Linked DNA regions of Homo sapiens: region 2 is linked to region 1. Evidence: promoter capture Hi-C in 16 types of primary human blood cells and fetal thymus (Javierre and others, 2016). All regions are on one chromosome and are shown on one strand. Each heading gives the region's core, a stretch centred on a gene start or on the middle of the fragment in contact. The rest is flanking DNA. Distances are from core to core; before and after follow the strand shown. Region 1 holds the start of SLC30A4 (solute carrier family 30 member 4). Region 2 has its middle 16 kb from the start of BLOC1S6.

Region 1 (5,337 bases), core at 2,608-5,107:
GATACTTCCTACACCTGGCCAAATTGCTTCATTTTTTAAAAATATATTTTATTTAATGTAGTCTCACTCTGTTGCCCTGGCTGGAGTGCAGTGGCATGATCTCAGCTCACTGCAACCTCTGCCTCCTGGGTTAAAGCGATTTCTGGCTAATTTTTGTATTTTTAGTAGAGATGGGGTTTCACCATGTTGGCCAGGCTGCTCTCAAACTCCTGACCTCAAGTGATCCACCCGCCTTGGCCTCCCAGAAGTGCTAGGATTACAGGTGTGAGCCACCGTGCCTGGCCAAATTGCTTCATTTTTTATTTCTCCATACTTCCTACATAAGATGCTTTATTTCTCTTTCTTTCTTTCTTTTTTTGAGACAGAGTCCCACTCTGTCACCCAGGCTGGAGTGCAGTGGTGCAATCTTGGCTCACTGCAACCTCCACCTCCCAGGTTCAAGCGATTCTCGTGTCTCAGCCTCCCCAGTAGCTGGGACTACAGGTGCGCCATGACGCCTGGCTAATTTTTTTGTATTTTCAGTAGAGACGGGGTTTCACCATGTTGGCCAGTCTGCTTTCCTCCTAACCTCAAGTGAGCCGCCTGCCTCGAAGATGCTTTATTTATAAGCGCTTTGGACACACTTTAATAAATGCTCTATTGTATACAGTTGAACTCTATATAACATTTTGAATAATATTGTTAATGCTTACCCTAAGTACTACTATCATCTCTGTATTGTTTAACAAAATATTTCCACATTTGACAATAAAGTCAGTATTTGAAAGGAAATACTTATTGTGGCTTTCATAAAACAACATTTACCAAATAACAGATTTCAGAAGTGAGAAGTCAAGACAATTATATCTTAATGATTTTTACTTAGGTGAAATAAACTCTGAATTATTAATCATTTTAAGGGGGGATGCTGTGATTGTTATTTTAACTTCAAATATTCAACGTTAACTTCAAAAATCATTAAACCTGAATGACTCAATATTCTAGTTGTGTTAGTTTGGGCAAGTCACCGAATCTCAGTCTGCTGAGACCATGGTGCTTTATCTGGGGCACAGGTTGTCTCCTGTCTTTTAATTTCTTTACAGCTCAAGCATTTATAATTATCTAACAGAATAAAAATGAATTAATTCAACAAGTTTATTGAGTATCTACTTTGTGCCAGTCACTGTTCTAGGTGCTAGGAATTCAGCCTGTATTTCAGTGGAAACAGGTAATATTAAATGAGTAAATAAATAAGATATCTCAGATGCTGAGGACTTTGAAAGTTGGAGAGGGAACAGGGAACAAAAGAGATTTACTTTAGTCAGTCAGAAAAGGTCTCTCAAAAGTGTGGGTTTTTTTAATTTTTATTACTTATTTATTTATTTATTATTTTATTTACTTATTTTTTTTTGAGACGGATTCTCACCCTGTTGCCCAGGCTGGAGTGCAGTGGCGCAATCTCGGCTCACCACAACTTCCGCCTCCCGGGTTCAAGCGATTCTCCTGCTTTAGCCTCCCAAGTAGCTGGGATTACAGGCGCCCACCACAACGTCCGGCTAATTTTTGTATTTTGTTTTTAGTAGAGACAAGGTTTCACCATGTTGGCCAGGGTGGTCTCAAACTCCTGACCTCAGGTGATCCACCCACCTCGGCCTCCCAAAGTGCTGGGATTAAAGGCGTGAGCCACTGCACCCGGCCGGGGTGTCTTTTTAAATAAGACACGAATGACAAGAAACTGGCCAAGAAAAGATTTGGGAAAGGCAGTCTATGTAAAGCAGTGTTTTTCAAGCTAAGGCCCTGACCTACTGCAGTGGACACACGAAATCCATTTAGTGAGCTGGGACCACAATTGAAGAAACTATTAGGATACATCACATGAAGGAAAACTTTTGTTTCAGTTATACATATATTTATACACATGTGACCTGTGTATATTCTCATACATATGTATGCATGCATGCCTAAATGAGTCACAATGTGAAGTGTATTTCTTACTACAGTGAGGTCAAAAAATGTTTGAAAGCCACTGAGATAGAAGGACCAGCCACTTTGAACGCCTTAGAGGCAAAAAGAGCTTTGTGAGTTGTAAGAGGAAAAAGAAGACCAGCATGGCTGAAGCGAGCCCTGGGGAGGAGTGTTATGAAAGAAGGTAGGAAATGTATATAATTTTTCCCACATAGAACCCTCCAGTCAAACATCTTAAATCTGGACTGCCACCTGTTTTTGTCATGGTTCATCATTTAAGAGATGACATGTAAGAATCATCTCCCTGCTTTTATGTCACTTTGTAAACTGTCACTGAGAAGTTAGTAGTTATACTGACGTGATTGAAAATAACCTCTAAACTAAGAATGTATCTTATATTGAGAACGGATTGTTCGTATAATTAAAAAATGAACAAGAAAACCAGGCTCATAGAACTTTGGCGGAGTCCTCTGGTTCATTTCAGGCCCTTCTTACGAGGCAAAAATTTCATGTTAGTTGGTAATTAATTTTGCAAATCTCTTGGCTATAAATACAAAAGGAAATCGTATAAAAGAAACCACTTAGGTCAAATGTAGAGGAAAAAAATGCTGGGACTGTAGATGTGGCTCTTCCATTAACTCCCTAAGTGGCCCTCACGACTTATTCCACTGGTTTGTGCCCTGGAAATCCTTACATGTAAAAAAAAAAAGGAGGTGGAGCAGGTGTTCAGTAAGGTCCCTTCATACTGTAAAATTCTATGATCTTAAGTTATTTACGATCATTTACTATTTTAAACGTTGCGAAAATTAACCTGGTATTTTACCAGACCTTTGTAAAAAGAGGAAGTTACATGACATACAATGAAGATAACGTCCTTAACTTTACGGTAGATGACAGTGGTTGAACAACTAGAAGAGAAAGTCAAAGTTATCTCGGGGAGTTTATATTGTACTTAGATTGAGCTGCACTTTGGAACCGTGTGGCCTTTTCACATGAGATCAGTGTCTTGATAAATACAAACTTCCTGAAAAGATGGGTTAAACCTCAAAGCCTGTGTAACTACAGCTTGACAAAGACTCTCGAGGAAAGGTAAACGGAAAGTGAGTTGGCAACACAACTCACCTACAAGTTCTCCAATCATGAAAAGCAAGTACAGAACGGCAGCAATGGTCAACCTGGCTTTCACCTTTCTCTGCTTCAGTATCTCTCTCTGTTTGCTGCAGTTGTCACAGGAGTCCACCTTCAAACTCAGCTGACTGTTGGTCAAAGGTAAGTCTTGGTCCAGTAAGGAATCATCGTCGGCCTGGAGGGTCGGGTGCGCCCCGTTAACAGGCCTTTCCGGGGCTTCGGAACCGTCATCGGCCACCACAACTCGAAGTTTGTTGAACCGAGAAAGCCCCTCGTCCCCCGCCTCATCCGAGAAGTCAAAGGCGCTGGTGTCATTTAAAAACAGCGGCGCATCATCCTTCCTTAGCATAGATTTGAGGCGCTTCCACGCGCCAGAGCCGGCCATGGCAGAGGCTGAGCGGCCGCGGTGCGGAACGGCTTGGGGGAGGCGGACGGCCGGCGGCGCCTACTTCACCGGAGCGCCAGTTCTCGAGGGCAGTGCCGCGCGTCCCTCCCCATCCTGTGGAAAACGAAACACGTTATAAATTAAAGGCGCCCAACCCTGTCCTCAAGTTCCGAAGCCGCTGGCGGCGGGTCGCAGGGCCGACCCCGACGCTCCGCCGGGGCTCCGCGAGGGGGCGGCACATCTATTTAATACCTGGGGCGCTGCCGCGGGGCCGCAACTCATCTCCCCGCCCCCGGCCGGCTCAGCGAGGCGGGCTCGCGCTGCTCCACCCGCGGCCGCAGGAGAGTGGGGTCGTGCTCGCGCCCGCCGCGCCCGCTGCTGGAGGCCGGCTCCCCAGGTCTGACAGGTTCGGGGCCGGACGCCCACAGCCACCGCCTCTCCCCGCCCTGCGCGAGGCCACGCGCGTGCGCCGGGCGAGGCGCGCGAGGGAGGGGTCGGCGCGAGGACACGCAGGCCTGGCGCGCAGGGCTGGGGCGCCCGCGATGGGCGGGGGCGCGCGGCGCGCCCCGCCTCTCGCCCCGAGGCTGGATTGGGGGCCACTGCGCCGCCTCCGCCCAGGGGTCACTCACTGGCCAACTGAGGGGACTTTGGGCGGCCTCTTCCACCTTCCCAGGCTGGGAGGCAAGTGCGGTCGGAGGGTCACGCCGGGGGCTGGGCGTTGCTGCTAGGAGTTCCCTCCACCGAAAGTGTGTCTCAGGAATCTCGGGTCGGGATCTGGGTTGCGGGTGCTCGGCAGAAGACAAACCCAGCACTTTTCTTGCTAACTGAAAAGGCAAGCAGCTTTTCTCTCCTCGAATTGCTTGTCTCTGGCAAATTGGCAACATTTGCTGCAGTCAACTGGAGAGGGCAAGGCTGTCGTCGTCAGCAGTTCTGTGTCCTACTGTTTTTCAGCAAATATGTATTGTCCTCTTTGTGCTCTCTGCCGTGTTCCTTTTGCCTCCAAGGTATTTACGATATGGACTAAACTCAAGCATAGAAAATCTAGTACAGGCATACCTTGGAGATACTGCGAATTTGGTTCCAGACCACCGCAATATGACAAAGTGAGGTCTCACAAATGTTTCATGTCCCAGTGCAAATACAATCATGTTTATAATGTAGTCTATTAAGCGTGTAATAGCGTTATGTCTAAAACAATGTGCATACCTTAATTTAAAATATTGGGAGAGAGGAAGGAAAAAGTATATATACATTTGTTAATTGCTCTGAGGAAGGAGGGTCGCATGAGCCCAGAGGTTCGAGATTACAGTGAGCTATGATTGTGCCTCCGCACCCCTGCCTGGCGACAGAGTGAGACCTTGTCTCTAAAAATAAACAAGTAAATAAAATACATGACTGCTAAAAAAATGCTATCAGCTGGGCGTGGTGGCTCACGCCTGTAATACCGGCCCTTTGGGAAGCCGAGGCGGGCGGATCACCTGAGATGGGGAGTTCAAGACCAGCCTGACCAAAATGGAGAAACCCTGTCTCTACTAAAAATACAAAATTAGCTGGGCATGGTGGCGCATGCCTGTAATCCCAGCTACTAGGGAGGCTGAGGCAGGAGAATCGCTTGAACCCGGGTGGCGAAGGTTGTGGTGAGCCGAGATCACGCCATTACACTCCAGCCTGGGCAAGAAGAGCAAAACTCGGTCTCAAAAAAAAAAAAAGCTATCAATCATCTAGGCCTTTAGCAAGTCATATTCTTTGCTAGTTGGAGGGTCTTTGCTCCTTGTTAATGGCTGCTGACTGATCTGGATGGTGGCTGCTGAAGGTTGGGGTGGCTGTGGCAATTCCTTAAAATAAGACAACAATGACATTTGCTATATTGATTGACTTGT
Region 2 (5,960 bases), core at 3,033-5,532, 50 kb after region 1:
CTTTTCAGAGCAAGACATGGCTTTGTAGCAGGTCCAGCCTGTGATGCAGGCAGCACTGTTACTTGGTCTTAAGATTGAGAAGCCCCTATAATGTTGGAGGTATCAGTGGTGGGAAAAGATGTCTTGTGCAGTTTATGGCAAGCCCACATAGACCCCAGGATCTGGAACAAGGCCCAGCATCTACACAGAATTTATAGACCTTTTAAAACTCAGCTTCTGGTGTGCTACTGGCCTTGACAGAAATGGAGCATCTGATTATGTAATATGTATCCATGTGGCCAGAAGGGCCCATTATGAGCTAGCTTCTGAACCACCAAGTCATAAGGTCAGGTACGCCTAACAGCAACCCATTGTACTTGGGAAGTGGTACATCTGGACTGGGTACAGGCAGGCTCAGACAGGGGGTACAGCTATCACATAGGTAGTACAGACCCCAGTTACATTTACAGACATTGCCACTTTTATGGTTTTAGCTAACATTACCTGGGTGGAAAGATATTAGCAAAACTTTGTCTTAGTAAGGTTCTAACTAGGAAGACATAAATTATTCTGAGTATTTGAAAATAGAGTTTATGATAGAGAATTGTTACTCTTGATAATTATTAATCAACAGGGGATGGTGAGGCAATCCAGAGATTAGCAATGACAGGCAGCCACTGTCCCCTCGGCTGGAGAAGAGGTGGTGTTCCTGGAACCCAGGGGTAGGGGTTACCTGGTATGCCAATCGTCAATTTATTGTCTCTTCACTCCAAATCCATTCTTCATTGCCTATAGTCATAATTCTAAGATGGCTCCCAAGATTCTCACCTTCCTGGTGTACAGGTCCTATATAATCCCTTTTTCGTGAGTATAGATGGGACTGTGAACATGATGGATTTTACTCCCGTGATTAGGTTACATCAGATGACAAAGGTGAATATATAATTGAGATCTCAAATCAGTTAACTTTGAGTTAATCGAAGGGTGGTTTTCCTGAGTGGGTCTGACCTACTCAGGTGCTTTCTTGAAAGAGAAAGAGGACTCTTCTTGGGCGAGGAGATTCAAAGTTAAGAGGGCCCATGGAGGGGGTGACATGGCCAGAGTACCCTCTAGTTGTTGAGAGTGGTCCCTGGTTGACAGCCAGCAAGAAAACAAGGTCTTCAGTTCTACAACTGCAAGGAACTAAATTCTGCCAATGACCTAAATGAACTTGGAAGTGGATCACTTCCTAGTTGATCCTCCAGATGAATATGTAGCCAGCTGACACCTTGATTTCAGCTGTGTGAGACCTTAAGCAGAGTACCCAGACAAAATGTGCCAGACTCCTAAGCCACAGGAGCTGTGCAATAATAACTTTGTGTTGCTTAAACCACTAAGTTTGCGGTAATATGTTATGCATCAATAGCAAACTAATATAGGCCTTGTAAATAGTTCTCTTCTGGCATGATATTAAGCTTTGTTGGTAGACGGTGCTGGAGAGACATTGCAGGAGGAACGTTTTTTTCTCTCTCTTCCTGACTTCCGTGTGCTCCTCTCACCGGTGCTCCTGCAGTATGTACAGCATCTGCAATACTTGGCTCCTGCAACACACATGGCTTCTGTAGTGCCCAGCTCCTGCAGTATTTCCTAGCTGGCAGCACACAGTACCTCCCCATGGGGAGTTTCCCCAGCATCACCTAAGGTAGCTTTGCAATGGGTGGCAAGGTTTGGTATCTCTCTGCAGATAGCTTGTCTTAGTACCTCAGCAAGTGCTTCTGGCATGGCACCTCAGCTTCACTATCTAGTGAACCAACACTATTCCATCTCCAACAAGATCTGGATTTTTGTCTTGGTGAGGTTGCAGAGATCTTACTTGGATGCTTTATCTCAGTCCCAACGTTGTGACTGCTCCTTATATCTGCTATTCTTGTATTCTTTAGAATTATCTTTCTTACTGCATTGCTCCAATATCTCTCTAATAGTGAATAACTTTCTATATTTTAAAATTTAATTTAACTTAATTATATTTTATTTTTTGAGTTGGGACCTTGCTATGTTGCCCAGGCTGGTCTTGAACTCCTGGGTCCAAGCAATCCTCCCTCCTTGGCCTTTCAAAGTGCTGGTATTACAGGTGTGAGCCACTGTGCCTGGCCTAAATTTCTATATTAAATTTTCCCTGTTTAAATTACTGTGTGCATTCTTTCTCCTCATTGGACCCTGCCTGATATATCTGACAAAGTTGGACTCACAGCAGGACTCTCCAACTGGGAGCTGGGGCCAGATGGGAGAGCCAGTCATTGCTCCAGTTGCCTTCTGAGGCAAAAAGGAAGGAGAAATACCTTGATTTCTTCTTTACCACCCCCTTCCAATCTCCCAGCCTGTAACCTCTACTAGTGCCTCCCATTGGCCAAACTCAGCTGGAAGCAAGCTGGCACAGGGACCAGGAAAGCCAGCCCCTGTGGTATGGGGCAGAGCAGGGAAGGTGACGGTGGGACTGAGGAAAACCAGGACTGATAAAATCCTGCAGTAGTCATTGGCATTCAGGGATTAGTTCTCCTAAGTTTATGATGAGATACAGACAGACTATATTTATCTCTTTATTAAGTAAATTAATTTAAAGTCTATTTTTCTCTCTGGGAGCACATAATAGAGACTTTTCTGAAAACTTAGAGGGAAAAATGACATCTTGAGATATTTAGCTGTTAATAAAAATTAATGCCTTTAAATATACCCTTTCATCTACTACATCAAATAAGCAGTTTTGAAAAAATACTTTAAAATGAAGGTAAGTGAATAATTAATTTTAAAGACAGCACTTTCCTAAGTAAATTCAAAAAATGTTGACAAGAAATTTATAGGAAGTCCAAAGACTAGGGCAATAATTTAGAAATTACTTGATCCACTGGCATTTTTAAACTGAAAAAGGAATCAGAGACTCTGAACTCTTTGTATTATTGACCTCATTACATTATAAGGAAATTGAATTTTTAAAATATCATCTCACCTTTTGGTCTGGAGAATCTTTGGAAATAATTCACATTTAGCAACTGAAACACTTTGAAGAGAACATTTTAAGTAAAAAAAGGACTATTTTGCATAGCTAATGCAAGTACTTATTTTAGCAATTTTAAATGAAGCATGATCTATCTCCTAGCTAATTTAAATAAATCTATCCTAAAAGGAAAGCTGAGTCCTGGAATAATATATGATGCCTATGGTCATTAAAATCACACTTTTTCCATAACATAGAGAATAAAGTAATAATGACTGATGGCTACTTTGATATCTACATGTAAGATTAACAAATGAATTTTGTGAAAACCCCAAAGTGGAAGAAGAATCGCTGTCTTTTGAATAATATTTAAAGTTATTTGAATGAATCATCATTTGTGACTAGTTTTACTAATAGTTCAAAAACACTGATACTATTTCAAATGATTAACACTCAATATTACGGATATTCATTTACTGTCAGATTTGATAATACTAAATAAAAAATAAAAAAGATTCCCCACCTGCCAATAGAAGCAGAACACTGGTATTGGTGATGTTCTCTATCCCTCACAGCTTGATCTTCTAATTTTGCAGGTTTGCAACTTCAGTTGCCAGCTTAACCAGTTGATATTAACCACTAAAAAACTGCCTATTGTATGAAGTTGATTTGTATAAAAGAAATGAATTTTAATAAAACATAGAATTGCCAAGCCCTCCGATATTCATTTAAGTCATTTAGTCCCTCTTATTTCAACAGAGAAGTCTACATAAGAAGCCAAATTAAGGTTGAATGGTTACTTAGGAAACCTAAAGTCTATTTAAGAGATCACATTAAGGTTAGTGAATATATGTATCCAAGGCACTAATAACAGAAATAATACTATTTCTTCTAGCCATAATAAATGCTCGTTTAGTGGGTGCTATTATTTACAATAGTGTCTTGCAGCAGTTTACAAATCCTGTTCATATAATGCGTGCTTGATTCTTACAAGAACTACACCGAGTAATGGGTCTGGTATTATCATTATCATGCCTCTTTTACTGATGAAAAAAACACAGGTTCAGAGAGTAAGTGACTTGACTAAAATCTCATAACTGATATAGTTGACATCTGTTGTTTTGGTTGGGCCAATTTCCTTCCTCTTTTTGGTAATAGGACTCTGATTTTTCCTTTAAGGAACTACCCAGTGCCTTTCTATAACTCCTAGCAGGTCTGTCAGTCAAGGGGCTCTGCCTCTGTCTGTTATGTGTGACCCACACTGACCCATCAGGGTCCACTATATTCCCCTAGATGCAGAGATTGGTATACGGGTGGGCATGTAATCCAAGTATTTGAGTGTTTTTTTTTTTTTTGAGATGGAGTCTTGCTCTGTTGCCCAGGCTGGAGTGCAGTGGTGCAATCTTGGCTCACTGCAACCTCTGCCTCCTGGGTTCAAGCAATTCTCCTACCTCAGCCTCCCGAGTAGCTGGGATTACAGGCATGCGTCACCACACCTGGCTAATTTTTGTATTTTTTGTAAAGACGGGGTTTCACCATGTTGGCCAGGCTGGTCTTGAACTCCTGACCTCAAGTGAGCCACCTGCTTCAGCCTCCCAAAGTGCTGGGATTACAAGTGTGAGCCACTGTGCCTGGCTTTGAGTTTTTTTTTTTTTTTTTTTAAGGGATTGAAATAAATGAATGCTAGGAGCGCACTGACTTCACTTGGGAGATGTAAGGATCATGAAACCCTGGAGCTATTTTCCTATCACATTGAGAGAGCTCCTAGAGTGAATGCTACATAGGAGAAAGCAGAGTGGAGAATCAAAGGGAGAGAGAGGGAGAGATTCCTATTTTGGCTGAGGAGAAGACATAGAAATCCTTGAAGCCAGAGCAGCCCCCGGACTTTCAAGCTCAGTTGATCAAAACTTCCTTTGTTTGTTTAGGAAGGTCTGGACTTCTCTACTTGCTAGTTGGTTAGACAAAAATCTAATACAGCTAATGATTATCTTAGCTGGGCTTGAAACAAATCTTTTGACTTTAGCCCTTTGCTATTTCTTTTCTTGGGATATTTGAGGTGCTGCTTTTCTGGCTGGAAACCTCTGTGGGTGGTGGTGCCTTTGCCCAAGTTCTTGTCCTATGTCCAGGAAGAGTGATGTATGCAGACAAGTGGAGGGTGAGCAAGACGAAGAAGAACTTTACTGAGGGTCAGAACAGCTCAGAGGAGACCCGCGGTGAGCAGGTCCTCTCTGTGGGCAGGTCGTCCCATCGAGTGTGCAGCTCTCAGCAGAGAGGAGGCCTGGAGTGGATGGCTCCTCTCTGCTGACAGGTCATCCCCAAAAATGTTCATCTCTCAGCGGAGATGGTAGTTCCTCTATGCAGCTGGCCATCCTGATGTCTGCCCTGCTCTGGCTGAGTCTGGGGTTTTTATGGTTTTCATTCAGAGTGGGGAAAGTATATGCTGATTGGTCCATGGGCAGCAATAGGTGGGCTCAGGAAAAAGCACCACAAGTTCCCCCTCTGGTGGGCAGGACTGGTAGGACCTTCCCTGGCCTGAAAGTGGAGCTTCACTGGGGACCCACCCCCTTCCTCCCAGGAGCCTGTCTGCCTCTCACGGCCATTCATTGGCACCCAGGATGTTTGTGCCAAGAGGTGCCTGCAGGCCAGTGTTGAGCTACGTGCAGTCCCCCTCGGCTTCCCTCCCATGATCCTCATCACCCAAAGTCTGGAGGGGACTGATGTGGCTGGGGGCTGGTGTGTCAGCACTGCCCTGAGCATGAGCCCCCTGGCTGGGCTGCAACAATGCCGGGGCTCGGCTCCAACCTTGCTCCAGGATTAGAGCAGGAGCTGACAGTGGGAGAAGCCAGGCAGCAGGAACAGGTGCTGGCAGGGGGCTCTGGGAGAGAGCTGGCTCTGGGCTCCCAAGAGCACAGAGACCCCTGGGTCTGCAGCCGAAGGGCAGGGCTCCTGCCTGCTCCATGGATCGTATTTTCCTTTAAGGAACTACCCAGTGCCTCCCTGCTGTAGCTGG

The links. Contacts are between HindIII fragments. The CHiCAGO score rates a contact against its expected background, and 5 or more counts as called.
Region 2: a fragment that was not itself captured here is called in contact with the fragment with the promoter of SLC30A4 in region 1 in 3 of 17 cell types (M2 macrophages, total B cells and naive B cells); the score reaches 6.7 in M2 macrophages.

The regions. Positions count from the first base shown.
Region 1 is chr15:45,518,898-45,524,234 of GRCh38, forward strand. SLC30A4 (solute carrier family 30 member 4) reads right to left here and starts at 3,858. Exons shown (of 8, transcript NM_013309.6): 1 at 3,710-3,858; 2 at 3,067-3,571. The coding sequence starts at 3,457. It also overlaps the pseudogene HMGN2P46. RefSeq lists a silencer at 3,561-4,050. The HindIII fragment of the contact is 8,884 bases long and covers 1-5,337 here.
Region 2 is chr15:45,568,742-45,574,701 of GRCh38, forward strand. No RefSeq gene overlaps it. Among named protein-coding and RNA genes, the nearest start is that of BLOC1S6, 16 kb to the right of the region's middle. The HindIII fragment of the contact is 5,703 bases long and covers 1,432-5,960 here.